Regions from separate parts of the Homo sapiens genome. Here all the other regions are linked to region 7. Evidence: promoter capture Hi-C in 16 types of primary human blood cells and fetal thymus (Javierre and others, 2016). All regions are on one chromosome and are shown on one strand. The core of a region is centred on a gene start or on the middle of the fragment in contact, and the rest is flanking DNA. Distances in the headings are between cores, read along the strand shown. Region 1 overlaps EIF4E (eukaryotic translation initiation factor 4E). Region 2 has its middle 24 kb from the start of ADH5. Region 3 has its middle 25 kb from the start of EIF4E. Region 4 overlaps METAP1 (methionyl aminopeptidase 1). Region 5 overlaps EIF4E (eukaryotic translation initiation factor 4E). Region 6 overlaps EIF4E (eukaryotic translation initiation factor 4E). Region 7 holds the start of STPG2 (sperm tail PG-rich repeat containing 2).

The links. The method cuts DNA at HindIII sites, captures the fragments that hold promoters and counts their contacts. A CHiCAGO score of 5 or more calls a contact.
Region 1: a contact is called between a fragment that was not itself captured here and the fragment with the promoter of STPG2 in region 7, in 2 of 17 cell types (total B cells and monocytes). The highest score is 5.5, in total B cells.
Region 2: a contact is called between a fragment that was not itself captured here and the fragment with the promoter of STPG2 in region 7, in 7 of 17 cell types (total CD4 T cells, monocytes, total B cells and 4 more). The highest score is 9.5, in total CD4 T cells.
Region 3: a fragment that was not itself captured here is called in contact with the fragment with the promoter of STPG2 in region 7 in 2 of 17 cell types (naive CD4 T cells and endothelial precursors); the score reaches 7.9 in naive CD4 T cells.
Region 4: a fragment that was not itself captured here is called in contact with the fragment with the promoter of STPG2 in region 7 in 10 of 17 cell types (total CD4 T cells, naive CD8 T cells, total CD8 T cells and 7 more); the score reaches 10.8 in total CD4 T cells.
Region 5: a fragment that was not itself captured here is called in contact with the fragment with the promoter of STPG2 in region 7 in 2 of 17 cell types (M2 macrophages and total B cells); the score reaches 5.5 in M2 macrophages.
Region 6: a fragment that was not itself captured here is called in contact with the fragment with the promoter of STPG2 in region 7 in 12 of 17 cell types (naive B cells, total B cells, fetal thymus and 9 more); the score reaches 12.6 in naive B cells.

The regions. Positions count from the first base shown.
Region 1 is chr4:98,905,702-98,909,767 of GRCh38, forward strand. The region is part of intron 1 of EIF4E (eukaryotic translation initiation factor 4E); the gene reads right to left. It also overlaps the pseudogene TBCAP3. Among named protein-coding and RNA genes, the nearest start is that of EIF4E, 21 kb to the right of the region's middle. The HindIII fragment of the contact is 9,850 bases long and covers 1-4,066 here.
Region 2 is chr4:99,063,022-99,066,612 of GRCh38, forward strand. No RefSeq gene overlaps it. Among named protein-coding and RNA genes, the nearest start is that of ADH5, 24 kb to the right of the region's middle. The HindIII fragment of the contact is 1,133 bases long and covers 1,133-2,265 here.
Region 3 is chr4:98,951,928-98,956,084 of GRCh38, forward strand. It overlaps the pseudogene FAM177A1P1. Among named protein-coding and RNA genes, the nearest start is that of EIF4E, 25 kb to the left of the region's middle. The HindIII fragment of the contact is 612 bases long and covers 1,718-2,329 here.
Region 4 is chr4:99,042,851-99,046,809 of GRCh38, forward strand. It overlaps METAP1 (methionyl aminopeptidase 1), which reads left to right. Exons shown (of 11, transcript NM_015143.3): 7 at 399-537; 8 at 2,329-2,460. Among named protein-coding and RNA genes, the nearest start is that of ADH5, 44 kb to the right of the region's middle. The HindIII fragment of the contact is 3,409 bases long and covers 585-3,959 here.
Region 5 is chr4:98,886,399-98,890,360 of GRCh38, forward strand. It overlaps EIF4E (eukaryotic translation initiation factor 4E), which reads right to left. Exons shown (of 7, transcript NM_001968.5): 4 at 1,491-1,554; 5 at 681-794. Among named protein-coding and RNA genes, the nearest start is that of EIF4E, 41 kb to the right of the region's middle. The HindIII fragment of the contact is 3,556 bases long and covers 1-3,430 here.
Region 6 is chr4:98,923,489-98,927,587 of GRCh38, forward strand. The region is part of intron 1 of EIF4E (eukaryotic translation initiation factor 4E); the gene reads right to left. Among named protein-coding and RNA genes, the nearest start is that of EIF4E, 3.6 kb to the right of the region's middle. The HindIII fragment of the contact is 1,104 bases long and covers 969-2,072 here.
Region 7 is chr4:98,141,766-98,145,887 of GRCh38, forward strand. It overlaps STPG2 (sperm tail PG-rich repeat containing 2), which reads right to left and starts at 1,711. Exons shown (of 11, transcript NM_174952.3): 1 at 1,277-1,711. The coding sequence starts at 1,385. RefSeq lists an enhancer at 1,438-1,537. The HindIII fragment of the contact is 14,460 bases long and covers 1-4,122 here.

The DNA.
Region 1 (4,066 bases), core at 858-3,357, 760 kb after region 7:
TTTATCAGCTTCAAATAAAAATGTTCAGTATTGTAATTTAGCAAACCCAGGGCTGAATAAACTGTCATAGCAACAAGAGAAAGTTGAAAGCGAAGAAAAAAAGCAAGCAAGGGTGAGAAAAGTCTAACAACTGGCTGCAAAGAATGTCAGGTAGCTTTTTACTACATTCTGCAAAAATTAGCACAGGTATAATATTAATCTTACAGGACAATCCTAATATTATAGAGGTAAATATTTCCCAGATCTAGCATCATTCTGTGGTGTTTTCAATAAATCTGACTAAACTTTAGGTTCTCCTCATCATGTTCAAGTCTACATTGCTTAAATTCCAAAACCATGATGTGCTTTTCCATAGTTTTGAACATTCAAGATTTCTCAGCAACTCTCAACCTAAATATACATATAAACCACTTCTAGAAATAATGATGAGCCTTTCCCCTCAGAATACCCCATTTGTGTCCTCCATTACCTTCATTCAACAAATATCTACTTACTCACAGGAACTTCCAAAAAATTTTTTTCCAGGTTAAGACAAATCACCCAACACCTTATTTGAAGTATGGAATAATCAGTAGTCCCTCTTGGCACTAATAATGGTTTGAACCAGTAACTCAAAGTATAGTCCACAGACTACTACTGCTGGTCCACAAACTGGTTATGGTTGACAGTGAGGTTAAGTATAGAAATGCAAAGTAAACACTTTGAAAATCTGTAGCAATTTGACAATTTTGTATCTGCTGAAACTAATCAAATTCAGGCTTACATATTGTATGCATGTCTTCATCTTTATCATTTTACAAAAGTATTATATTAGAAATTTTTAAAAAAAGGCCAGGCATGGTGGCTCATCCCTGTAATCCCAACACCTTGGGAGGCCAAAGCAGGAGAATCTCTTGAGCCCAGGAGGCCAAAATAGGAGCATCACTTGAGTCCAGGAGTTCTAAGGCTGCGGTGAGCTATGATAGCACCACTGCATTCCAGCCTGGGTGACAGAGTAAGACTCTGTCTCTAAAAAATTAAATGAAATGAAACTTTAAAAACAAACACAAACCAGATTGTCATCAGAATATGAGATGCACTGCTTCTGATCACACCCTCTAGAGCCATGTTCCCCATGTTGGAATCCCAGCTCTGCCATTCACAGCTGTAAAATTCAGAGCAAGTAACTTCCGTGGCCTCAGTTTCCTCATCTTAAAATGGGCATTGTGACATTTATCTCCTAGGATCACAATGGGGATTAAATGAATTAAAAAATAAAAGCATTTAAACTGTCTGATACATGGGAAATGCAAAATAAGGGTTGCTTTTTATAAAGTAGCTAAAAATGTTAAGTGAATGGTTACCTGGCTTGCCATTCTCCAAGTATTTATTCAGAGCAAACTATATGACCAGCCACTATGCTGAGTTGTTTCATATGATTTGTTTTAGAAAGAAAAAAATTTTTTAAATTATATTTATCACTTTCCTCCTTCCTAAATTCCTTCTGATATATGTAGATATAGGTATTCCTCCCAGAACAATAATGATTAATGCAATATAAAGTCATTTTAAAGTAAATTGAAGTAAGGAAACCTACTTTTCCTACTTTTAAAGGTACTCCCAGATACCCTATTTCCCCTTTTCTGTACTGAAGGCATCATATCTTTGGCCTCATGAATGGCTAAAATATAGCATTGAGCTGCAACTATCTATTACCAAGGAACAGCATAAAGGACATTGAAATCAAGCATCAAAAAAGGCACAAAAAAGGGGGCTAGAGGGAGAAAGACATTCTATATCAGGCACATTTATTCACATACCATCTTCTGTGCTTCCAAATAATGCTGCAACTGACAGTCTGTATATATCAGGCTCTGACTTCACTACTACAGTTTTCCTCTCATAACAGAAAAAGCAATCCCAGGTTTATCAGTCCCTGATGCACTAGGAGCCATACTGCAAAATGGGTAGCTCAACAAGACAGCCTGGATCCACCTCTAACCCCAACTTGATGAGTCCTTTAAGTCTTAAGATGAGTATGATAGGAGAAAACTTTCAGAGTACCATAGGGATTTAAGTGATCTAGGGTAAGTCCTTAAAATCCCTGTAAGGATCAGTTTCTTCCCTTGTAAAAAGTGCCGTGTGGGTTTTCATCAACAATCCAAGAGTTTGGCACTGAAGTGATCCATAACTGTCGGCTACCATGAGCAATCAGTACTTGAGATGACATTAATGTAAGAGTTTAGAAAGGTAAGAGCTGAGTAAATGCGGCATACTGAACTAGACTTCAAACTCTGGAGAAGTTCCAGTCCTTTAAATTTTAAGATGAGGAAAAAATTTTAAGAACAATAGAAGATAAATCACTAACATTCATATCCCAGTAATATCTGAACAAGGAGTGGTAACCTAAACTACCTAGGGTATGCTCTCTAAATTATTGTCCTGGCTCAATAATTTCTATCTATCCTCAGATCCTTACACCAGACCTTCCCCACCTTCACCCCACCCCCAATCATACACACAGTAAGTAGGGATATGAAAAGAGAAAGAACTCGTGATTAAGTTAGAAATAATTACCCAGATTACTGTTACCACACCTAAATAATTCTGATACCAACACTCTCCCCCTTCCTGATGACACAAAAATATAAACGTGTTCGGTCAATGCTACAGCACCAAATAATGGATAACAACATGATTGGTGACTCATATCCAGTAGTGCTTCCTTATATTACCCCTTCCTTCACTTTCTGTAGCTGAACTGGAAAACCAGCTGTGTCCATATTAGAAATGTAAATGCTACATATGGCAAAGACAGCTGCAATTATTTCTACAAGGTACTAATACAACATTCTAGTAAATTGAAGTCACTATATTAAATAAAGGTATGAAATAATGAGCAGAAGGACAGACACAGTAAGAACAGAAAAGGATGGTGCTTTATGATTTTGAAAAGCTCACACCTCATCCAAACTATGAGTTTTTACTTGATAGGGAACATTTACTAAGCAGTAACTACCAGGCCATGTGCTACATTATTTTCATACATATTATCTCAACATACTATAAATCATCTCAATATAGTCAATCTTCATAATCCCGTGAAACAACCATTATTCTCTCCACTCTTCAGACAAATCTGAAGTCCTGGAAAAGTAAACATGTCATTTAAATCCAGGACTACCAGGGTTTACGGCTAAGAACACCACATGTCCTAGTTCTACCTGTTTGTTGTTTCAGTATAATTGTTAACAGAACTCTCACTCCCAAAGGTGGCCAGGACTGAATAATAAATTATATGGTTACAAAGATTCTCTTTCTAGGCAACATAAATCTATAATATATACTGTGCTCTGTTCTACAGCCTCAGGCTCAACACCTTTGCTCATCTTGCCAATGCATGTGACTGCCAATAAACTAGTAAAAAAGGCATGAATGGTACACCTCACCCTTCCTCCCAGACACACAAAAAAACCCACTACCAGGAAAAAAAGCAACTATATAGTGAGTTTGTATTATTATGCACAGCAGGACACTAAATACCCATTGGTCAAATATCTCACATATACAGGTAAGTGTAAGTAAAAACCTCTTTTATGTGTACAAATAACTTTAATGAGAACATTATTTAATACAAATATGTAAACAGACTTCATACGTTTCTGTTCCTTGTAGTATCTACTGTTAGTTCTCAGTTTTGTCATTCATTTGACAAATTAAATCAGGCAAAGAAATGTACACAATCACATAAAAAGAATCACGTTCTCACACTTGAACACACAGCAGTGGTCAAAAATAATGAAATGTAAACTGGACCCCATGATTTAATGCAAAAAACACCCTGTACATAAAAGTTTCAGGCTTCTAACTCCACTGAATCCAGTACTAAATGTTCTTTATATTCCTCAGCTTCTTCCAAGTCCTTTTCACTTTCTAAAATCTGCCAAAGAACAGTATATGCAGCTTCCAACCTGTGCTGGCAAACAAGGCTTATCACCTGGGATTCTCGCAGACTTTCTGCCTGCTTTTTAATGGCATCATTTTCACCATCTTCAGCTCTCATTTTTTTTCTTTCCTTCTTGTTTTG
Region 2 (3,591 bases), core at 449-2,948, 920 kb after region 7:
TTAGGGGAGCATTTTATGTACTGATTGTGGAATTAACAATGTGGGCTTATTCAGTGTCTGTCATTAGAATATAAGCTGAAGGAAGAAAGATCTTGGTGTGATAGTTTTTTGGTTAAAAGATAAAACACCACACTGGTGATAATGCTTTTCTTAGTTTGGGAGATTTTAAAACAATATGGACTCTAGTCTAATTGCATATATCTAATTACAAATGTTCATTGGATTTAGGTGACAAAACACCTAGTTTCATCATTCTGCCACCTTTTTACAAAACAAGTCAGAGCATGGTGTGCGAGCCTGTAGCATTAGCTACTCTTGAGACTGAGATGGGGGGATCGCTTGAGCCCAGGAGTTCAAGGTTACAGTGAGCTATGATTGTGCCACTACACTCCAGCCTGGGTGAGAGAGAGAGACCTCATCTCAAAAAAAAAAAAAAAAAAAAAAAAAAAATCAAAGTATTAACTTCTTTTTTTACATTAACTTTTAGAATAATTTTTTCCCCCTGCCAGTCTTCCAACTCCTTTGGAATTATAACTTGGAAGAAGGGAAACATGAACTTCATTTTATGTCTTTTGTTGATAAAAAGGATTAACCAACACCTTTATACCACTTGCACCCACATATCTAAATTAATAGGCAAGAGTTGATGAGGTTTAGGAATTTGTTTGCTTGATTCCTCAGTTTGTTCTCTAACGACTTCTGGGTTTTCATTGGATTTGGTTAAAACTGAGAGCAGGATGCTCCCCTTTGCTTAACCTCTACCCTCATGGTATCTGTAAGCGATTTCCTTCCTGTTTTTCCCTTCTTTTAAAATTTTTATTTTTTATCTCCAACTTTTTATATTGAAAATTTTCAAATTACAGAAAAGTTGAAAGTATAGTACAGTGAAATAATCATATATCCCTTACCTTTATCTAACAAATGTCATTTTGTCACCTTTGCTTTATCTCTGTATAAGCACTTTTCTTTTGAAAGAAGCAACATCGTACTTCACCCTACTACATCAGCATGTATCTCTTAACCTAATGACATTCTTTTACATGATCATAACACAATTAGAAATTTAGTATTAATACAGAATTATATAATGTATAGGATATAAACTTTAATTTTCCCCCAAAATGTTATTTAAAGCTTCCAAATTCATGGCATTTAGTTGTCATGTATCTGTAGTCTCCTTTTTTTTTAGATGGAGTTTCACTCTTGTTCAGGCTGGAGTGCAGTGGTACAATCTTGGCTCACTGCAACCTCCACCTCCTGGGTTCAAGCGATTCTCCTGCCTCAGCCTCCCTAGTAGCTGGGATTACAGGCCCCCGCCATGACCCAGGCTAATTTTTGTATTTTTAGTAGAGACGGTTTCACCATGTTGATGCCAGGCTGGTCTCGAACTCCTGACCCGTGGTGATCCACCTGACTCGGCCTCCCAAAATGCTGTGATTACAGGAGTGAGCCACCATACCTGGTCTTAGTCTTCTTAACTCTAGCAGCCGTGTCTAATCCTTTGAGTGCGAGGATCTTTTATCTGTGGTGGTGGATATCATGAAAATTATGCACAGGCCTTTGTTTGAGCTCATCAGCTATCGTTGGTGTATTTTACATGTGGCCCAAGATAATTCTTCTTCCACTGTGGCCCAGGGAAGCTAAAAGGTTGGACACCCATGCTAGAATAACCCTCACACCTTTTTTGATGTCTTACGAAATGGACACTTGAAAAATCAGGTTAGTTTACAAAAGTCCGTTTGTCTGATTGTTCCTCATGAGGATAGATGCAGGATAAACATCTTGGTGGAAGACTACAGAAATGGCAGTTGTATGCCCCATTCATTGTACAACGTGAGGCACATAATGTTGTTGTCACCTTATTGCTGATGCAAAGTTTGATCACTTGGTGTTTGTCAGACCTTTTCACTGTAAAAATACCTTTTTTCCTAAACAAGTAATCTGGGAGATTAATATTTGCTTGATACTACCAGACAGATGTAAAATTGTTTCAAAATTACTACACTAAAATCACTGCCAACAATAAAGTACACTTTCTTTATGATTCTTTTTTTCTTAGAACATATCATTGAAGTAATTTAGATCTTATTCTGAATTTCATAAACCATGGGCTACTTTAAGAATGAATGCAGTGAATCTCGGGGGCAAAAAATACAGTAGAGGTGGGGAGGGATATATTAGTGGTCTGGCAGTTAGAAATGCTGGAACTGTTTGAGACAGTGTAGTAAGATTCTGTCTACATTTGATAGTGTTTAACTTTTACCAAGCTTTCCAGCTGCAAGAGGAGCAAATCATACCACTTGTAAATTACACCACACTTGTGGCAGTGTCGCTCATTTTCCAACTCCTTTATTTATTTATTTATTTTTATTTTTTTCTTTTTTTATTATACTTTAAGTTCTAGGGTACATGTGCACAACGTGCAGGTTTGTTACGTATACATGTGCCACGTTGGTGTGCTGCACCCATTAACTCGTCATTTACATTAGGTATATCTCCTAATGCTATCCCTCCCCCCTCCTCCCACCCCACGACAGGCCCCAGTGTATGATGTTCCCCTTCCTGTGTCCAAGTGTTCTCATTGTTCAATTCCCACCTGTAAGTGAGAACATGTGGTGTTTGGTTTTTTGCCCTTGCGATAGTTTCCTGAGAATGATGGTTTCCAGCTTCATCCATGTCCCTACAAAGGACATGAACTCATCCTTTTTTATGGCTGCATAGTATTCCATGGTGTATATGTGCCACATTTTCTTAATCCAGTCTATCACTGATGGACATTTGGGTTGGTTCCAAGTCTTTGCTATTGTGAATAGTGCCACAATAAACATATGTGTGCATGTGTCTTTATAGCAGCATGATTTATAATCCTTTGGGTATATACCCATTAATGGGATGGCTGGGTCCAATGGTATTTCTAGTTCTAGATCCTTGAGGAATTGCCACACCGTTTTCCACAATGGTTGAACTAGTTTACAGTCCCACCAACAGTGTAAAAGTGTTCCTATTTCTTGACATCCTCTCCAGCATCTGTTGTTTCCTGACTTTTTAGTGATTGCTATTCTAACTGGTGTGAGATGGTATCTCATTGTGGTATTGATTTGCATTTCTCTGATGGCCAGTGATGATGAGCATTTTTTCATGTGTCTGTTGGCTGCATAAATGTCTTGAGAAGTGTCTGTTCATATCCTTCGCCCACTTTTTGATGGGGCCAACTCCTTTATGTTAGAACATAACATTTAGACATTCATGTTTTAGGAACAAACTGTTTCATAACATAGGCTGCATTAGGCTAAAACCTATAAAAGTTGTGTTTTGTTCTATTTTAAAAATGGACACCTAAGGAAAGGTTAGCTTAGCACACAGTCTGTGTATGGAAACTCTGGCCCTTATGGCAACCTTCTCTCATCTTCCTTTTGGTGCTAAGTAGGAAAAAGAAAAATAGTCTGCATTTATTTGGGTGTTTTGCAAGATGAAGCAGGAATAAGGTGGCCCTGGCTACGTGTTTGCTGCTTTTCATTTTGGGGACTGTGGGTGAGCAACAATAGAACTGTGTATATGGTGATTCTGGTTATTTTTGAAAAAAGGTCAACA
Region 3 (4,157 bases), core at 774-3,273, 810 kb after region 7:
CATCACAACCATACACAAAAAATATTTCTGTGAGTACATCTGCCTAGCAACTGCCTGTCCAGCCTTGCACTGATGCCACCCTTGTTATTGATTCTTGTAATGAAGAATAATTGTTTACAGACACTTATGTAATATTTTCATTTTTTCTTTAACAACTCTTTTCTTTCATTACCTCCCTGAATATGCTCACCATGTTCCCATTGCTATGCTCAATCCCAAATAAATATTATCAATCCTGAATAATTATCAATAAATATTTTTAAAATATTTTATATGTAATATATGTATATAAGAATATATATTTATAGTATATATAAATATTTATAATATAAAAGTATTCATGTTTTACTTTTTTTGGAGACAAAGTCTCATTCTGTCACCCATGCTGGAGTGCAGTGGCATGAACATGGCTCACTGCAGTCTTGGCCTCCTGGGCTCAAGTGATCCGTCCACCTCACCCCTCTGGGTTGCTAGGACTACAGATGTGCACCACTATGCTTGGCTAATTTTTAAAAAATTTTTGTAGAGACAGAATCTCCTTGTCTTGCCCAGGCTGGTCTGGAACTCCTGGCTCAAGTGATCCTCCTGCCTTGTGAACCTCCCAAAGTTCTAGGATTACAGGCACTTACACATGAGCTACTGCACCTGGCCCTATTTATATATTTTTTTTTAATCCACCCATCTGCACACTGAGAGTGTGTGTGTGTATTTAATTATTTTTTATGCAGTTTCATGTTTTTAGATCTTAAGTTTAAATCTTTGGATTATTTAGCAATTTTTTTGGTTTAATGTGTTATATAAAAACCCTTATATAATGTGTTATATAAAAACTTTTATGTAAAAACCTGTATTTTTTCTGAACTATTATCCAATAGTACCATGATGTTTTCTTTCTTTTAGTTTGTGTACTTGTTTATTATAGTAGACTTTTTCCATGGTTCATTTATGAGCAGTTCTGTCCAAATCTGCTTTTCACCCAAAAAGTGTTGGTGAATTCTGCTTGACTGTCCACTCTCTTTTTACCTGGGAACTGTAAACTGTACCATAATATTAGAAATGGGTATATTCTCTTTGTAATAACATCTACACTATACTCTGTGATATGTAGTATGTACAAACTCACCTTCTGGAACCAGAATGTCTGATTGTGTCTGTTGCTTACCATCTGTGTGCCCTTGGACTTCTTTTTTCTCTCTCTCTCTTTTTCTTTTCTTTTTTTTTTTTTTTTTTTTTTTTGAGACAGAGTCTTGCTCTGTCACCAGGCTGGAGTGCAGTGGCGTGATCTCAGCTCACTGCAACCTCAACCTCCGCCTTTTGGGTTCAAGTGATTCATATGCCTCAGCTTTCCAAGTAGTTGGGATTACAGGCACGCACCACCACACCCAGCTAATTTTTGTATTTTTAGTAGAGATGGGGTTTCATCATGTTGGCCAGGATGGTCTCGATCTCCTGACCTCATGATCCACTTGCCTCAGCCTCCCAAAGTGCTGGGATTACAGGTGTGAGCCACTGCGCCCAGCTGCCCTTGGACTTCTGAACTTTTCTGTGGCTCAGTTTCCTTATCTGTAACAGGAGACTAGTTAGGATTGAATGAGTTAATGCTTGTAAGATGTATGAAATGGTTCCTGGTACATAGTCAAGGCTTTGTAAGTTTTAGAATTAGGATTATCCCCTTCTATGGCTTAAGAGAGAGAGGAAGAGGGCTGAAGCTATGGGAAGCTTGAGTATTTTGTGGGTCTTGGTTTCTGATTTAGAAATGAACTCAGTCTTGCTCAGAGACTGTGTTCCTAACCTCTAATGTTTTTGTCTCTCTATTTTTTCTTCAATTTAGTCCAAATTCTTCGGTATTTGAGAGATGTTTCTCAAAGTTTAAAAAAATTTTTTTAATTTTTTAATATAAAAAACTCCAAACATTAAACAAAAGCTGGAGGAATAACAATAAATCTCATTTACCCATCATCCAGTTTCATTTTTTTATGTTATTTTTATTCCATTTTTTTAGAATAGAGACGGAGTCTCACTATGTTGCCCAAGCTGGTCTTGAACTTCTGGGCTCAAGTGATCCTTCTGCTTCAGCCTCCCAAAGTGCTGGGTTTTGAAGGCATGAGTCACCATGCCCGGTCTATCATCCAGTTTTAATTGTTATTGTCTTATGGCCTTCATAGTTCTTGGTATGTTGGAAGGATTACTTGAGCCCAGCGGTTTGAGACCAGCCTGGATGATATAGAGAGACCCTATCTCAAAAAAAAAAGTTATTAGTATAAGGTTGAGAACTCTTCCCTAGTTTCCACGTAGATGGTGCTATTGTTCCTAGCACCTAGGAGAAGGAAGCTTTGTGGGTCTGTACCTATCCTTTCAGATTTCCTGTAGGTCATAAACCCAATACTTGAGCTATCATGATTTAAACACTTTTTCTTGCAACTGTAGCAGCTCATCAGGCTGTTATATCTATCTCATCCTCTTTATTTCTACTCTAATTGCCCTACTTGGACCTTCACTGCTTTTCATCTGAATTATTGCAACAGCAGCCTAATTGGCCTTCCTGTATTCAGACCTCTATATTCAGTCCACTCTTCGTACTGTCGAAAGTTTATTTTTTTTTAATATCACAAGCCTAATTATGGCACTCTGTTCTAGAAGCCAAGGAATTGCTCTCGGTTGCCTATGGAGTAAAATTCAAATGGTCTTTTTTTCCACAAGAACATGAGATGGCCCTTTTCAGCCCTTCACTAGAGTATCTTTCACTATATACCATAGTTCCTCAATTCTAACATGCCATTGATTATAGACTATATATTATGATTATATGTCATTGATTTAGCAAAAGCTTTTGGGTCAGGGACCAAGAGGCACAATGGAACCTACGCATCAGTGATAAGATACATTGTGATTTCACAATTATGAAAATGTAGAGGCATATTAAATTATTCCTGTAATCACAGCAACAGTATTAAGGTAACAGCAATAAATGGATGGCATATTAACCTGCGTAATTATAGGAGATTTTTAGTAAGGTAATTATTTGCAGACATGGGCAAAGTTTAGGGAGCCAATAGGACATGGTATAGTATTCCCAGGCTGGCTTTAGGGTGGGTGGGGGACTGTTGCAACCGAATATCTAGGTATGAAGGCTGAGGGGAAGGAACTCTGCCAGAAACCAGAGAGAGAAGTGTACAGAGCAGGACTCTAGACAAAAGTTGCGGACTTCAGTAGAGAGAGTGAGTGAGCCATGGAAACATGGTAGGGAAGGGGCCAAAGGAATAAAGATCTCGAATACTTCACTCTCTCCCCACCCTCTTATCTCCAAGCTAGCTAAAGCCATCTCGAATCCAGAGGATAAACAAGTCCACCAATGCAGTTAAGCTTCCCAGGGCACAAAGCATTATGGAGAAGAATGGAGCACAGTGGGGAGGGAAGCCAAAGGCTAAATGGACAGTGTCAGGCACATCCTCCATTCGATTTACTCTCCATCTTATTTTATTTATTTATTTATTTATTTACTTATTTATTTATTTATTTATTCATTCGAGACAGAATCTCACTCTGTCTCCCAGGCTGGAGTACAGTGGCAAAATCTCGGCTCACTGCAATGTCTGCCTCCTGGGTTCAAGGGATTCTCCTCTCTCAGCCTCCTGAGCACCTGGGACTACAGGCGCATGCCACCACACCCGGCTAATTTTTTTTTCTTTTTTTTTTTAGTGGAGATGGGGTTTCACTGTGTTACCCAGGATGGTCTTGATCTCCTGACCTTGTGATCCGCCCACCTCAGCCTCCCAAAATCTGGGATTACAGGCGTGAGCCACCACACTCAGCCTACTCTTCATCTCAAATCACAGATTAAATCTCTACATACCTGAATATTTGCCCGCTTGCTGTTTATTTGGCCTTTGAGCTCAGCTTAATTTTCGCGTTCTCCATGAAGCCATCTCTGACTTGTTTAGTCAATTTGTCCTCTGATGTGTTCCCATAAAACGCCACTTAAAAGATTTAAACTTTAGATGGTCCAAAAGGAACCGTTGATGTCAGGACAACCATAAACCAAATTTTATCTCATGGGGAAATATGAGATTGGATGAGTGACAAAAGAGGCTTTGAAAATGTAGAACTGGGAGTGATACAAGGAAAGAAGAAAGTCCCAAGGAGAGCCATCCTCTTTG
Region 4 (3,959 bases), core at 1,039-3,538, 900 kb after region 7:
AATATTTGTATTATACGTAACTGGTTAAGTGTCTGTAATTTCAAATTTGAAATTCTAAATGCTCCAATGGGCATTTCTTTGAGTGTCCTGTCGGTGTTCAGAAAGTTTCAGATTTTGGAGGATTTCAGATTTTTGGATTAGGAATACTTAACCTGTATGTCATTTTACTTTTCCTTTGTGCAGTTACCAGTAAACTGGTTTGTGTATGTGTACCTGACTGGCACAAACCCTGTTGTATATTGTTTAAGATAATATCCAGTACTGTTACTAAAATAAAATACTGAGTTCTTCATAGTAGCATGTGTCCAACTGTTTTCACATTTTTCAAATTTTAAAATCTGTAATTTCATACAGATTTTTTCTTTTATATATTCCAAATTATTTTTTCTGTATTATAGGCATGTATTGCAAGAAATTGCTACCCTTCTCCCCTGAATTATTATAATTTCCCAAAGTCTTGTTGTACCTCAGTGAATGAAGTCATTTGCCATGGAATACCAGACAGAAGGCCCTTACAAGAAGGTGACATTGTTAATGGTAAGAAAAATATGTTACTTTCATCACCATGGGCAAAGAAACAACAAAGCTTGGGGAATCTGACAGTGACTTGTGTTTTCTTGACTTGCTTCCTGTACTTAAACTTTTTCCTTTTTAAAATTCAGTATCACTAACTCTTAAATCTACAGGAAGCTCTCTTAACGGTTTTGTGCATGTTGCTTTTAAGATACTTCCGGTGTGATGTGTTTGGTGCAGTGTATTTCTTTAATGCTTATCTCATATGTGATTGGTAAATAGGTCAAAGATGTCAGTGAAATGTGGAGTCTAGTTTTTTTCCCCCAGAAGTTCACTAATGGTTTTGAAGAGACCAGGGCAGGCTTTGTTATAGATACAGGAAAACCCTTCATAATATATGAAGACCTAAAGGAAAGCTGAAAATCTTGCAGAAGTGCCTTACTTGAGTGGAAGTAGCTTTAAAGACCCCTATGTTAAGCTACCTTGGGAAGTTACAAGTATAGAGAGTAGAGGAAGTAGTTTAAAAGACATTAATGAAGGCTTTCCTAGATGGCATTTGTTTTTGTTTTGTGTATTATTTTATTTTTTGGAGACAGGGTCTCACTGTCACCCAGGCTCGAGTGCAGGGGCGCCACCATGGCTCACTGCAGTCTTGACTTCCCTGGCTCAGGTGATCCTCCCACCTCAGAAGTAGATGAGACTGCAGGCTCATTGCTACCATGCCCAGCTCAGTTTTTGTATTTTTTGTAGAGATGGGGTTTTGCCATGTTGCCCAGGCTGGTCTCAAACTCCTGGACTCAAGCATCTGCCCACCTTGGCCTCCCAAAGTCTTGGGATTACAGGCATGAGCCACCGTGCCTGGCTTAGATGGCATTTTAATATTGATGGAATTAGACTCTTTGTTAATAAGATATCTTAAAGGAACTACCTATCAAATGAGGAAGCATGAGCCCAAGTGTTAGAGGCTGCAGATAATTGACTGATTGTGATGCTAGCTGTGAATGATAGCCGAAATTTAACTATGACACTATTTTTATTAGAATTGCTACTGCTTTAGTTAGGGTATCTGTTCATAAAGTTCCATAGGTTTTGAGGCCAACCCTGTTTTTCAAATATAAAGCCTGTTATTTTTATTATATGTAGAATGTGTGAGGTTTTTCAGGAATGTATGTGTTGTGCTAGAACCAAAATATCTATATTGTGATGTTACAGGTTGATTGAAATATGTGGTTTAAAAATACTCAATGTGCTCTCTAGATACATTATAATGGTATAATAGTATATAATATATAGTATAATAGTAATCTATATTCTTAAACATGGGGACAAAGAGAAGAATGAATATTCACAAATAAGAGAAAAGCAAATGAGTTTTAAAAAAACAGGTGTAGAGCAGTGTAAATTTTTCTGTTATTCCCTAGCAGGAGTAAGGAACTTGTAAAAGATAAGTGAAAATGGTATTTTGTAGCAATGTAGCAAAGTTTTCAATTTAATGTTACTAACTCTGGTAATTTATTTTGCATGATTGTGTCCCACATACATTTTTCTTTTGCCACAAGTGATACAATTACTATAAGAGTATAAAAACCCACTATCTGGCTTATGTTACATGGCCATATTCCTGCTCTCCACAGTGAGTTCAGTTACATCTCAGGGAGCTTCTGTTGGGCAATAACTATCTATCCATTGGTGTCTAATTTGAGAATGCAGAAGTTGTCTTTTTCATTAAGTTGCTAGATGCTGTCATGTTGGAAAAACACTTGAATTTTGAAATGAAAATAAGTATGGTCTTTATATTTGCACATTCTCTTGCAGTGGATATCACTCTTTATCGCAATGGTTATCATGGGGACCTGAATGAGACATTTTTTGTTGGAGAAGTGGATGATGGAGCACGGAAACTTGTTCAGACCACATATGAGTGCCTGATGCAAGCCATTGATGCAGGTCAGCCTCAGTGTTGAGCACCTATTGGCAGTCCTGTGTGTTGATGGGCCAAGAATGACTGGGCGCTGCAGTTCTGTGCATTCCTTGTACCTTCCAGGTTGCCCCTGTTCTACCTGAGTTAGCTTTGGTTGTTAGCAGTAATGGGTAAAAGGATGATCTGGGAATCTCTTGGTGGTGATAGACCAGATGATTGGTTAGCATCCTTTGTTTCTTCTGTGATTTATCTTCCTTTTCTTTGCCTGATAAATGAAGAGGACTGTGCAGATGGTTTTTTAGTGCAACTTTTATTCTATTTTTAAAATTCTTTCCAGTACATAAATATTATGTTCTCCTCATAAAAAATTAAAAGTGAAGATTATGAGTGAAAAATGTGTGATCCTCCTTTACACTTGCCTCCCCTCTTATCTCTCTCTTCTCTCTAGAGATATCCCATTACCGTTTAGGTTTTTTCTCTCTCCTGTGCATTAATGCACACACGTATGTGTATGTGTTAAATTAAGTTAAATGGAATCATAATATTTTTAATGTGTAACTGGGCTGTTTTTTCAACTATCATAGAGATCTTTTCAAGTTAGCATATATACCTACAGACATAGATTTACCTCATTCTTTTAATGGCTATGTATTATATTCTATAGTATTACAATTTGTGTAACTATTCTGTTGGATTTTGGTGCTTTCCAGATTTCTTACTATTGTAGTAATGGGTAGGGGTGTATTTCTGGAGGATTTTTCTCAGGCTGTCTGTCTTTGTACATATGAACAACTTATCGAGGCTTTTTTGTTTAATCAGTATCTTATGGGGATAAGAGAAGGAAAGGGGCTGGGCATGGTGGCTCACTCCTGTAATCCCAGCACCTTGGGAGGCTGAGGTTGGCAGATCACTTGAGGTCAAGAGTTCGAGACCAGCCCGGCCAACATGGTGAAACCCTGTCTCTAATAAAAATACAAAAATTAGCCAGGTGTGGTGGCGGGCGCCTGTAATCCCAGCTACTCGGGAGGCTGAGGCAGGAGAGTTGCTGGAACCTGGGAAGTGGATTGTGCCACCGCATTCCAGCTTGGGCAACAGAGCGAGACTCCATTTCAAAAAAAGAAGAAAAGAAAAAAAAGAAAGGAAAGTTCTTAACAGCATCTTGTTGGAGTTGTTAACAAACTGTTAATAAATGGGCAAACAGCCTTCTGGTTAAATCCTTACCATATCAACTTTATTACCAGTGTGCTACCTGCAATCCTCCCCAGTCTCTCCAAATCTTGATGTCATCAACAGAATAGTGAACAGGACAGAGTTCTTAGACAAACATACAGTTATCTCTAATAATGTTGATCCAGTATTTTTATTGTTTTTAGTGCGTTCTTTAATGTGTATGGGAGATGAAATTTTTACTCAAGTTGGAGGAATGGAAATGAAGGAATATGATATTTTTGTGTATCAGGTGAAATTTTGAAAACTTATTACTCATTGTTGATTATTTTAAAACATTAATACAGGAGGTGGAATT
Region 5 (3,962 bases), core at 403-2,902, 740 kb after region 7:
ATTATTTGCTTCACTAATCTAAAAAGTTTAGTGGGACAGGCACAGTGACTCACACCTGTAATTCCAGCACTTTGGGAGGCTGAAGTGGGAGGATCACTTGAGGCCAGAAGTTTGAGACCAACCTGGGCAACATAGCAAGATCCCATCTCTGGAAAAAAATTAGAAAATTAGCTGGGCATGGTGGCATGCACCTGTAGTCCCAGCTACTTAAGAGGCTGAAGTGGGAGGATCACTTGAACCCAGAGGGTGAGGCTGAAATGAGCCATATAAATAAATATCCGCACTCCAGCCTGGGCAACAGAGCAAGACCCTCGCTCTAAAAATATAAGTATTTAAAAGTTTAGTATACATATAGCAATGCTGTAAGAGGGTTGCAAAAACTTCAATCATACAAAATGTAAGGTTCTATAATTTTGAGGTTAATGAAATGACCACAGTGAGCTTACTGTGGTGAGAGTCAACTGCCAATCACTTAAAATATCTGACTTATAATGTGGTAGGATGTTTCACTGTACTATAAACAGGAGTCATATGACAGAACAAAAATAATTACTGACCCTGATTTTCTAGTGTTGGGCATCCTTCTCTTAAATTAAGTAACAAATGTAAAACATAACATATCTTAAGTATCAGTATTCCAAAACTACCTCTAAAACTGCTTTATACTTTTAAAACCTTACTGTCTCTAGCCAAAAGCGATCGAGGTCACTTCGTCTCTGCTGTTTGTTCAATGTAATTAGCCATCGTCCTCCCCGTTTGTTTTTCTCATCTTCCCACATAGGCTCAATACCATCCTACAGGGTTAGAAGACAACAGTATTACACAACATTGTTACCTTGACTTTGAGAGATAATCATTAGAAACAGTTAAGCAACAACACTGTCAACTTCTTACTTTATTGCCCATAAAACTGCCATTGATGTAGTTTTTAAACAGCACATAAGACTTAAAGCCAGAGGCATGACATTGCAGAATTAGAGTCCTGGCTTTGTCACTTATTAGCTATCAAATCTTGGGTTTCACTTAATTTGAAGGTTCTTAAACTTTCTGAGAAGCAAACATATTTTAGAAGCTCTGTACATTTCTACAGCTAGAAAATACATGCAAAAACTATGCAATTTCAGTTAATGAATGTCCCGTCCCTCTACCAACTGACAAAGCCCAATAATAAGTATTCCAAGGACCCATGCTCCTAAGGTTAAGAATGCTTGATAAACTCAGTCTGCTCAAATATATAAAGGAAGGAGTAGACTGGATAATCAAAGCTCTCATCAAAATCAATCTCAGTATGTGCCCACAGAGTAACTCTCTCTCAATTTTTATAAACAAATAGAATAAGATATATTGATACTAAAGCATACTACAGCCAATTAAATTATCAGCCTATTCATCACACTATCAAATATTCCTAAGTTTATGGTAAGATTTCTTAATGAATACCAAATGGCCCAGTCCTATAATAAATATATAAAATCACCAATTAAGCATACCTTAAAAAGTGAGTAGTCACAGCCAGGCATTAAATTACTAGACAACTGGATATGGTTGTACAGACTAGGTAAAAGAAAATAACAATTAAAAACACAGAATATGTAATATAGAGTTTAGGTGCTTACATATATATACATTTAGAACATATGATGAAAATAAACAGATAAAAGTTCATGTTTACTTGTTTCTAAGGAGTCAATTTCTAAAATGGACAAAACAGATCTTAAAAGCAGTTAAATAATCAACTTCAGATGACAGGTATAATTTTCAAAAAAACTTCTAGTGACTGCTCTGACAAAAATATATTTTATGTTAGTTAACTCAGTGCATACATATGTATATATATAAGAAACTGAGAAGAGAGGTATAAGGTGGCTTTAAGTAGATGAAATAATTTCTGAAGTTAATACACAGTTTTTTTCACAAACATAAAAAAACAAAAACAAAAACAAAAACAAAAACCAGAAACGATGAACTTCCTGACCATCAGGATTGCATGACTGAAACAGTCATTATCCTTGAAGGTATCCAAGAGTAGAATAGATCAACGGTTCCCAAACACCACAAACTGTCACTGGTTAGTCAACATAATAATCATTTTAAAACTGATTTTAGAAAAATAAATAAATAAATATAGTTACAAGCCCTACATCTTGGGATTATAATCACCTAAATATAAGATGGAACCCTGCAGTCTGTATTTCTAAACTATTTCCCAAGTATCAAAATAACAGAATAACATTTGCGATGACTTAGTTGCTTGCCTGAAGGTAGGAGGCTTAGATCATTTGATCTCCTGTAGTCTTTTACAGCAAAATTGATTTAAAAATTGGCAACTCTTAAGAATCTTTTGCTTGTCTCCAATATTAGATGGCAGAAATAATGATCTTAGCTGTGTCTACAGACCATGGATGATTCTACTATCCTTAGTCTGGTTCTCCTGGTGCTATGTTAACCCCATCTAGGAATATTTCAGGTAAAGATTTAAGGGCCGGGTGCAGTGGCTCACGCCTGTAATCCCAGCACTTTGGGAGGCCGAGGCAGGTGGATCATGAGGTCAGGAGTTCGAGACCAGCCTGACCAACATGATGAAACCCTGTCTCTACTAAAAATACAAAAATTAGCCGGGCGTGGTGGCATGCGCCTGTAATCCCAGCTACTAGGGAGGCTGAGGCAGGAAAATCGCTTGAACCCAGGAGGCGGAGGTTGCAGTGAGCCGAGATCACCCCATTGCACTTCAGCCTGGTGACAGAGCTAGACTCCATCTCAAAAAAAAAAAAAAGATTTAAGAAAGAAGTTGGCATCTTTAAATCAAATTCCATAGTATAACACACAAATATAGTTTAGGTGAGACAACCTAAGACCACATAAGGTTTGCTGAGTCACTACCTAATGGTAACTCCCAACTACATCATCAATGACAGCCTCCACTAGGCAACAAAAAAAGACGGGATACTAAGTGACTATAAAATTAGCGCTACTAATGTCATAAAATGAATGGATATTGTGGGAATGACCTTCAATAAAATACTTTTTCCCTTTTGCTGCCTCCTTTCTCTTCTGTGGTGCTCAAAGGTCTCTCAAGTAAGTCCATCATGAGAATTTATAATGGCACATCTAAACAGAATCCTAAGACTATGCAGTCTGGATAAATACAAAAGGACTCAATGGTTATCTGCAATAAATTTGCTAGAAAAAAACAGAAATTAGGAAGTGGCCCACACATTTATAGAAAACTGAAAAATCCTTCATATCTCTAAGTTATGGTATAAAAACCTACTATGTAATGACATTGACTACATGTAACTGAAGCATGGAGAACTGTTCTAATTAGAAGGTAGAATTATGTAAACTGGTAAAAGCCAAACAAACTAGATAAATGCAAATCTGATTGGGGAAGGTGGCTCAAGGCTTCCTTTTTCTCTGTAGGAGAATGAAAAGCTTTTTTTTGGGGGGTGCAGAAGACTGGAGTTATTTAAGAGTCCTGAATAAACAAAACTAGAGAAGAAAAACTACTTGATGTTTTGATGATGGGCAAAGAATAATAATCCTAGTTTAACTAGAAAACTAGACCTATAAATTATTAGGCCTTAAATGTAGTTATTATTAAGTGTCAATGCTTTTAATAAAAAATAAATACTCTCAAAGTTTACTCTCAAATGAATGTTCTCAAATACTCTCAAAGTTTATGGTTTTAATCGTATGCTTTGCTTTTTTCAGCAACACAAATGAATACAAAATATCTATTAGAAGCCAAGCACTGGAAATATACAGAAAAATATTGTTTCTGCTGTTGAAGATGTACATACATATGTATAAATTTTATACCACAATCTATTTCTTTGTATGAGCAGAATATCTTGAGGGGGTTACATTAAAACATAAGAGTAGCATCACTAATTCAGCATGTATATGATCCTAAAAAAAGATGTACAAGTTAGAATATTTAGATAACTGCTAGGTAATTTAAA
Region 6 (4,099 bases), core at 271-2,770, 780 kb after region 7:
TTTTTGGAGAGACAGGGTCTCGCCATGTTGGCCAGGCTGGTCTCAAACTCCGGGCTCAAGTGATCCTCCTGCCTTTGTCTCCCAAAGCCTCGGATTACATGTGTGGGCCACCAAGCCCAGCCCCTTTCTTTTTCTGGAGACATGATTAGGGACTTTTGAAGGAACACTAGTGATTTTTATGGTAGGGATAGGAGTGGGAAGAACATCTTAGGATTGTGAATCACAGGCTTTGCATTTCTTGCTAATGGCTAAGGATTGATAATTAAAAAGCAGCAATGTGAATTTCCAAGAAAAGAGGGAAAATAGTATGTAAATGCATGGATATACATGAGTATAAAACATTCATGGAATGTCAACTTTAGTCCCTTACAGTTGACAAACTGTCACCTTTGAATACTGCATTTAAAAATTGAAATCACCGTAATATATCTTATTCCGACTTTCAGCTGACTTAGAAATTTCAGTCTTCAAGATCACTCAGATATTAAGATGAGACTATAACCCATGCTCATTTCCACTTCTCAAAAAAGTCTCTATGACTAAGATGGTGCAACTCACCGGTACTAATAGATTAAGGAAACTTCTTTTGTTTATTTTTTTTTTTTTTGAGACGGAGTCTCGCTCTGTCACCCAGGTTGGAGTGCAGTGGCACAATCTCAGCTCACTACAACCTCCGCCTCCCAGGTTCAAGAGCTTCTCCTGCCTCAGCCTCCTGAGTACCTTGGGATTACAAGCACGCATCACCACGCCCAGCTAAGTTTTGTATTTTTAGTAGAGGTGGGGTTTCACCATGTTGATCAGGCTGGTCTCAAACTACTGACCTGGTGATCTACCCACCTCGGCCTCCCAAAGTGCTGGGATTACAGGCATGAGCCACCGCACCCGGCCCATATTCTTAACTTTATGTAAATTAAACAATATTTTACTTAAATGTTTTTTGCCTACAGTTTTCTGTCCAAACTAGAGTAAGCTTACATAATTCATTTTGCATATTATCCCTCTGCAACTTCTGTGTATAAACTGTGTGTCTACATTGAATTTCTCTAAGTCTAATAATCATGCTCATTAACTCAGATTATAAAATGAAGTGTGAAATTTGTTTCTGTTTTTTTTTTTATTCTTTTTGATGGAGTCTTGCTCTGTCGCCCAGGCTGAAGTACAGTGGTACCATCTCGGTTCACTGCAACCTCCACCTCCAGGTTCAAGCGATTCTCCTGCCTTGGCCTCCCCAGTAGCTGGGATTACAGGCGCCTGCCACCAGGCCTGGCTAATTTTTGTATTTTTAGTAGAGACAGGGTTTCACCATTTTGGCCAGGCTGGTCTCGAACACCTGACCTCAAGTGATCCCCACCCGCCTCGGCCTCCCAAAGTGCTGAGATTACAGGCGTGAGCCACCGCACTCAGCAAGTATATTTTTTTCTTTTAATTGAAGAAATCTGGAATATGAACCCCAGAGCCAAATTTACGTGGATTATCGAGGAACTCTGATATAGTGGGTTCTTTCATTAAGCAAAAAGTCCACTAATTTGCATAGTCTGGTTGGCATTCAATTGTTCATTAATATGAATTATATAGTACAACAAATATTTGTCAATATGTATATAAACCTTATTTACTCTTATTAATAAGCTGTGTAGTACAGAGCATGTTTCCAAAGTATAAAAAAGGAAGCATTAAATTAGCTGATTGTCCAAGTTGATTCACTTATGAAATTAGCGTGGTTTCAAAAAATTCAAGAGCTACAATGTAAAAACAAGTAAAATTATACACTTTCAGTTAAGCTAAAGAAATCAAAATTAATCTCTTACCTCAAAAGGAACTACAAGTCAAAAAAAAATTTTTTTAATTCTAATAATGAACGATGTAGAATGAAGATAAAGCTACAAAGAAACACGACCTACTGGAGGTAAGATGGCCTTGCCATTTTCACAGACTAATATTAAACCTAATTTTGACCCAGCCACAATTCAAATGCCGATAGAATAACATCAGAGTACCGTTTGCCCTAACGTTCAAATTTTTGCCAAATTATCCGTTAAGAGGTAAAATGTTTCCCTTAATTTTCCCTTTCAAGCTTCTCAACAAATTTAATATTTGTGGGCCACATCTTCATGTAACTCAACTCATACAAAGAGAAAACCACACAATAATATCAAACTGAAAATGATATTTTATGTAATGTCCATAGACAAAAATCATCCAGATACCTATGCATGATGGGATAAGCAGGAAAAGCCCATGGCTCTTTTTAAGTGTTTATGATTATGCACAGCAGAAAACCATTATGGAAGCTCACAAACTAGCTGAAGTAAGAAAAAACATGATTTTTGCAGCCTTCAGCAGGGGTATCTCAAGTACAATCCAATTCTAATCAGTTGCTTCAAAAAAAAATCCAGGCGAGGCTCGGTGGCTCACGCCTGTAACCCAACATATTGAGAGGCCAAGGTGGGAGGACCACTTGAGTCCAGGAGTTTGAGACCAGCCTGGGTAACCATCGCGAGATTCCATCTCTACAAAAAGTTTAAAAATTATCCGGGCGTGGTGGCCTGCTCCTGTAGTGCTTGCTACACCAGAGGCTGAGATGGAAGCATCTCTTGAGCCCAGGAGTTTGAGGCTGCAGTGAGCTATGATCGCGCCACTGCACTCCAGCCCCAGCAACAGAGCAAGATCCTGCACCCCTACACACAAAATCCAACTATTTAAAACTGTCAAAAATAATTCCACATAACTAGCCTGTGCACAAGGGTATATTAAAAGTACTAAAAATTTTCAGGCCAGGCGCGGTGGCTCATGCCTGTAATCCCACCACTTTGGGAGGCCAAGACGGGCGGATCACCTGAGGTCGGGAGTTGAAGACCAGCCTGACCAACATGGAGAAACCCCATCTCTACTAAAAGTACAAAATTAGCCGGGCGTGGTGGCACATGCCTGTAATCCCAGCTACTCGGAAGGCTGAGGCAGGAGAATCGATTGAACCCAGGAGGCGGAGGTTGCGGTGAGCCAAGATCGCGCCATTGCACTCCAGCCTGGGCAACAAGAGTGAAAGTCAGTATCGAAAAAAAAAAAATTCATTTCTCACTAAAACTAAACACTTCGATACTATTTTACATATATTCTCAAAATACTTTAGTTTCCAGCTTCACACACTTTGTTTTTAGGTTCCCCTACTCCCCAAATTTAAACATAACATCCAAATCTCCCAAAGTCTGTACCAGAACAAATACTGTATCACTAACCACATCCCTAGGAATTAAGTTCCTTAAGGGTTTACATTCAACAAGACTCACATCTTGTATAACTTTGTATCCTAAAGAACACTTGGTACAACACCCTGGATATATCAGGAGCTATTAATATTTACTAACTCAAAATATAGTCCTTCATCACTTTGCAGTTCCGCTCTGTGCTGCTGAAACAAAACTGCATAAACTCTGCAAAACTCAAGGGACCTAAATGTGACAGAAACCTCACAGAACTCCTTATTGTTTTATAGTTTACAGTCTCGTAGCCTTGCCCCTATTACCAGATGTAATGCTTTTTACTGACACTAGTGTAGTGGGGTAGGAACAGATCTAGACAAAAGTGGACATCAGAACCTGTCAAGGGGTTTAAAATGTATATTTTACATACTTATTCTTCATTAGTGTTATGTAATATTAATGTCCTAAAGTCAGTTAACTGTAGCAACAACTTATGAGTTTTTCAGTCAATTTAATTCCCAGGAACATAAATGAAAACTGGTGCCAATAAAAAAACAAGTAAGCAAGCAGAGAAGCTGCCTTGAATTTTGACAAGGTAAGGATAGTTTACACCAACGCAATGAAAAATAAGCCTTTGTGTAGTCTATAAGAGTTTTTGAAATAGTTTTATAAAAGTCTTTAAAAGTGCCGGGTGCTGTGGCTCACGCCTGTAATCCCAGCACTTTGGGAGGCTGAGGCGGGAGGATCACTTGAGGTCAGGAGTTTCAGACCAGCCTGGCCAACATGGTGGAACCCCGTCTCTACTAAAAATACAAAAATTAGCCAGGCACGGTTGTGCGCACCTGTAATCCCAGCTACTCAAGAGGCTGAAGCAGGAGAATCGCTTGAACCCGGAGGCG
Region 7 (4,122 bases), core at 461-2,960:
TTAAAATATTTTACAGAGTTTGACTCTTTTCATCAACAAGAAACATAAAAACATTTAAAGAAGGCCATGAAGGACTGCTTGGAGAGGGGGAGAAGATGATGCCCTGATTCGGCATTTAACAAATGTTTATTAGGTCCCAATCATGTTCCCAGACACTCTTCCAAGACAGTAGTTGGGAAAAAAAAAAAAAAAAAAAACAGGAGGAAATGATGTTACATTTTGGAAAGAAGTGTTTCCAAGAATAAAGTGGTCAGTTATGTCAAAATTAAGGATTGCAAAGTGTCACAGGGGGTCATTGTTAGCCATTGTTAGGGGAATTAATGCTTATAATGCCCAACTCCATTAAAATAAAGATAGAATAAGCTGCAAGAATAGTGATACCAGATACTGTGAAGCAGTACAATTCAACATGTGAAACACTGACAGAAGTCAAATTTGTACTCCACCCCAAGAAACCTAAACCTTCCCTTATCTGATCAGTTATGTAACAGAATAATGGATCCTGGCATTTGCTTGAAAATACATAGTGTAGGTATGGGGAAAATGTAGGTTAAGAAAAACTATCATTTGGACGGTATTAAGCTCCAGAAAATCACCAGAATAGAAAAAGTAGAAAGCAAAATTGATGTATTTATTTTTGACTAAGTCACTAACTGCAAACAAACGAGGAGAGCAAATATTATTTAAATTATCCATCCCCACTCCACTGGTCAAAAATATAATTTTTCTTTACAGAATGTGGAGAAAAGGGGCTCCCCTGAAGTGTGTTAAAAGAGATGAGGACGGTCAGAAAAATCTGTCTGAAAAAAAAACGGAACTATCTTTAAATAATACTGCAAAATAGAAATATAAGCTACATCTTAATAAATAAATGTCTCTGGTTAATGGGAGGAAAGATGTGAGGCAGGCAGGATTACAAAGCAACGAGACAGCGGGAGGTAAGGGCACAGGATTTGGAGACTCATATATTATGTCAACACAGCCAGGAAATCAAAATCCTAGACCTAAACTGCACAATCAAAAGTAGGATGTAGACAACTATTGCGGAATCAAAAGTCCTAGCCATATGCTCACCAGCCTTTTGAAATGGGACAAGTGATACTATCAGTCTCATCTGTAAAATAAAAGTATAGTGTTTTCCCTGCCTACTTCATGTTTTGTTATGTTTACAAAATGGTACTATTCCGCTCTATGTTTAACTCACAAGCACGCAGAAGCGGAGCAGGCTGAAGATAGGATGCCTGTCACAGGAGCTCTGCCTCTTCCTACATCTTACCTGTCGCCTGCTGCTTCAGGAAAGGTACCTGGTAGGATCCAGGACCCACATGGGCCTCAGTGCTGCCACCTTCAGCCAATTTGAGCAGGCGGGGAGCCCGATCATACATAGTGCTCGGGGTGGTGGGGGCGCTGGGGAAGGGCAGGTGCCGAAAACGATAAAAACAAGGTAGCTAGAAGTGTGGAGAAAAAGGAAGCCGACACCAGTCTGAGGAGGCCGGGAAAGAACTTCCGTAAACAGGGAAATTAGGGGTGGGGTTGTCTCCCCGCCCGCTCATTGATACCAGATTTCCTCAAATCGATTTCTAGCTCTGTGGTAAAGTAGAGGGGTGAGCGACTAGAGATTAGACGTCCCACACAATCATCAGTTTGCCAGGTGCACGCCACCAAAATTGGGTATTAGGGATTAGACGCTCGCCCCGGTGCTTCCGGCCCTGACTCCGCCCACTTCTCTCCGCCCGGAAGCCTGGGGAGGAGGCGGGCCCAGTCTCTGGGGAGGAGGCGGGCCCAGTCTCTAGGGAGCGAAGTGGAGGTGCCTTCCTGGGCCGAGCCCTCGGAGCATGCGCACCGAGCAGCCACCCTTTCCCGGCTCTTTTTACCCGGAACCCGGCGCGCCTTGAAGAAGGCAGGCCTAAACCTCGTAGCTCTTGGGGTCCCGGTAACTACTTAGGTCCCGAACTTTTTTAAGTATGCAGAAGAACCTTAGAAAACGCGTTAGGAAGGGTGAGGACTAACTTGACCTTGATCTGCTTCCCGACTCAACAGAACCTAGTAAAGAAAAATGCAGTAGCATGAAGCAGAGAGCTTGGGGTTCCGCAAGCTCTCCCCCGCTTCTACTGCAGCCCCACTCGTACTCACAGAGAAAAGGCACCTCTGATCTTAACCTGTAGATAGTCCAAACTGCTAAGACAAACCCAGGGCTCAGGGCAGTGACAAGAAATGGAGAACCCAGAAAAAAAAATAACAAATAAGATAAGGGTAAAAAAGAAAAAAAAAAAAAAAGAAATGAGGACACCAGGCAAGGAGGCGAAAAGCTCACCAACTGAAGCCGTGGAAGTGACTGAAAGCTGCCTCTTTTGTCGTATGCCAGGTAACCACAATACTGATTCATCAATATTTAAAAAGCAAAGCGAAGGCACTGAAAAAGCCCAGTCCACCCCACCAAACCAATGATTCTGAACCTTGGGCAAAAGAAACCTTGCTTGTCCTTGGGGCTTAAGGAATCTATGTCAGAATCCACCTCTGCATCTCGCAGGCTGTTTTTTCTAGCAAGAATTCTGTCCAGATTATAAATATCCTCAGAGGCTTAGACAAATCCTACCTTGATCATACCTCACCTCCAAATGGTCTACAGTACGTTAATTTGTTCCTACTACAAGTTTTTATAGTTTTCATACTCTGTAATACACGATTTGCCACTCAATCCTGTGCAACATTTACTGTGGCTTCATTGTGCCATATAGGTCGGAACCCTCTCCTTGCGAGGCTATATGCTTCTCAAGGATGTATCTGTAGTACCTTTTTTTCTGTTCAATAGCTAGCTAAATTATTTATGCACTTAAAAAACACGAATTGGCATATACTGTAGGTTCCATCCCTGCTAAGTTATGAGGATACAAAGGCATAAGAAAGTCCCTGCCCTCAGGTGTTCTCTCTCTAATGGGGAAAGAGACGTATAATCCAAAACGAGAGGTGGCAAAGATTTTTTTTAATGGTAGGAAAATGAATATTGCAATATTTTGGAAACATCTCACCAACTTCGATTCTCCCTGCATTCTGTCAGAAACCCTCATAATTCTCTCAATGTTGTTTTAACCTTATTTTCCAAGCTGCCACCTATACCCATTCAGAAGATCTAGATATTTACTATGACATATTAGAAAGAGTCACAGAGATGAAAGAGAAAAATTCATGTGCTGTGTATGATAATCCAGTGGTGCTTGTAAATTTGCCCGCTATGTCCTTAAGGACATCATTTGACCTTGATGATCCAAACAAGGATATCAACCCAAACTGCATACTCAGGTCTAGGCCATGGTTGCCGTAAGCATTGATGCAGAATTTCAAGCCCTGTCTGGCCATTCTGTCTGCAGTAGTCTACATTACTCTTTGCTTGAATATACATATTTTTGGAGATTGGAAATGGAAATGGTAAAGCTGGCTTTATATGCTTTCTGTCTGATTTGATTTTCAGCCATTGAATGTAACCTAATTTAGACAAAGGGAGTTCTTCATAGCACCCTTCCTAGCTCATTTGCAGACCTCTATGGGAGAGTTTCTGAGTACCAGCTAGGAAAACACTGTTTATTTACCTTGCCTGCCTCCTGAGTGAATGCTTTTTCCTCAAGGACTTCACAGAGATGGGTAGCTGATCAATGGCAGGACCCCAGTGTTTGTGGGTCTTCTGGCCAGATCCTACCTAAATATTACACACTGAAGTGCAACCTATATACTCTTCATAATTTGGTAATTGGTCTCTCAAAATTCTGCATTCTTAACAAAAAAAAATCTTTCTTTTAAAAGTTTCTATGAGGCCAGGTGCAGTGGTTCACACCTGTAATCCTTAATCCTAGCACTTTGGGGGGCCCAGGCAGGAGGATTGCTTGAGGCCAGAAGTTCAAGACCAGCCTGGGCAACATAGGGAGATTCCACCTGCACACACACAAAAATTTTTTTTTAATTAAAAATTAGCCAAGTAGGAATTTGAGATTACAGCAAGCTATGATGGTACCACCGCACTCCAGCCTGGAAGACAAAGCAAGACCCTGTCTTAAAAGAAAATTGTTTATGAGAACACTTGGACACAGGAGGGGGAACATCACACACCGGGGCCTGTCGTGGGGTGGG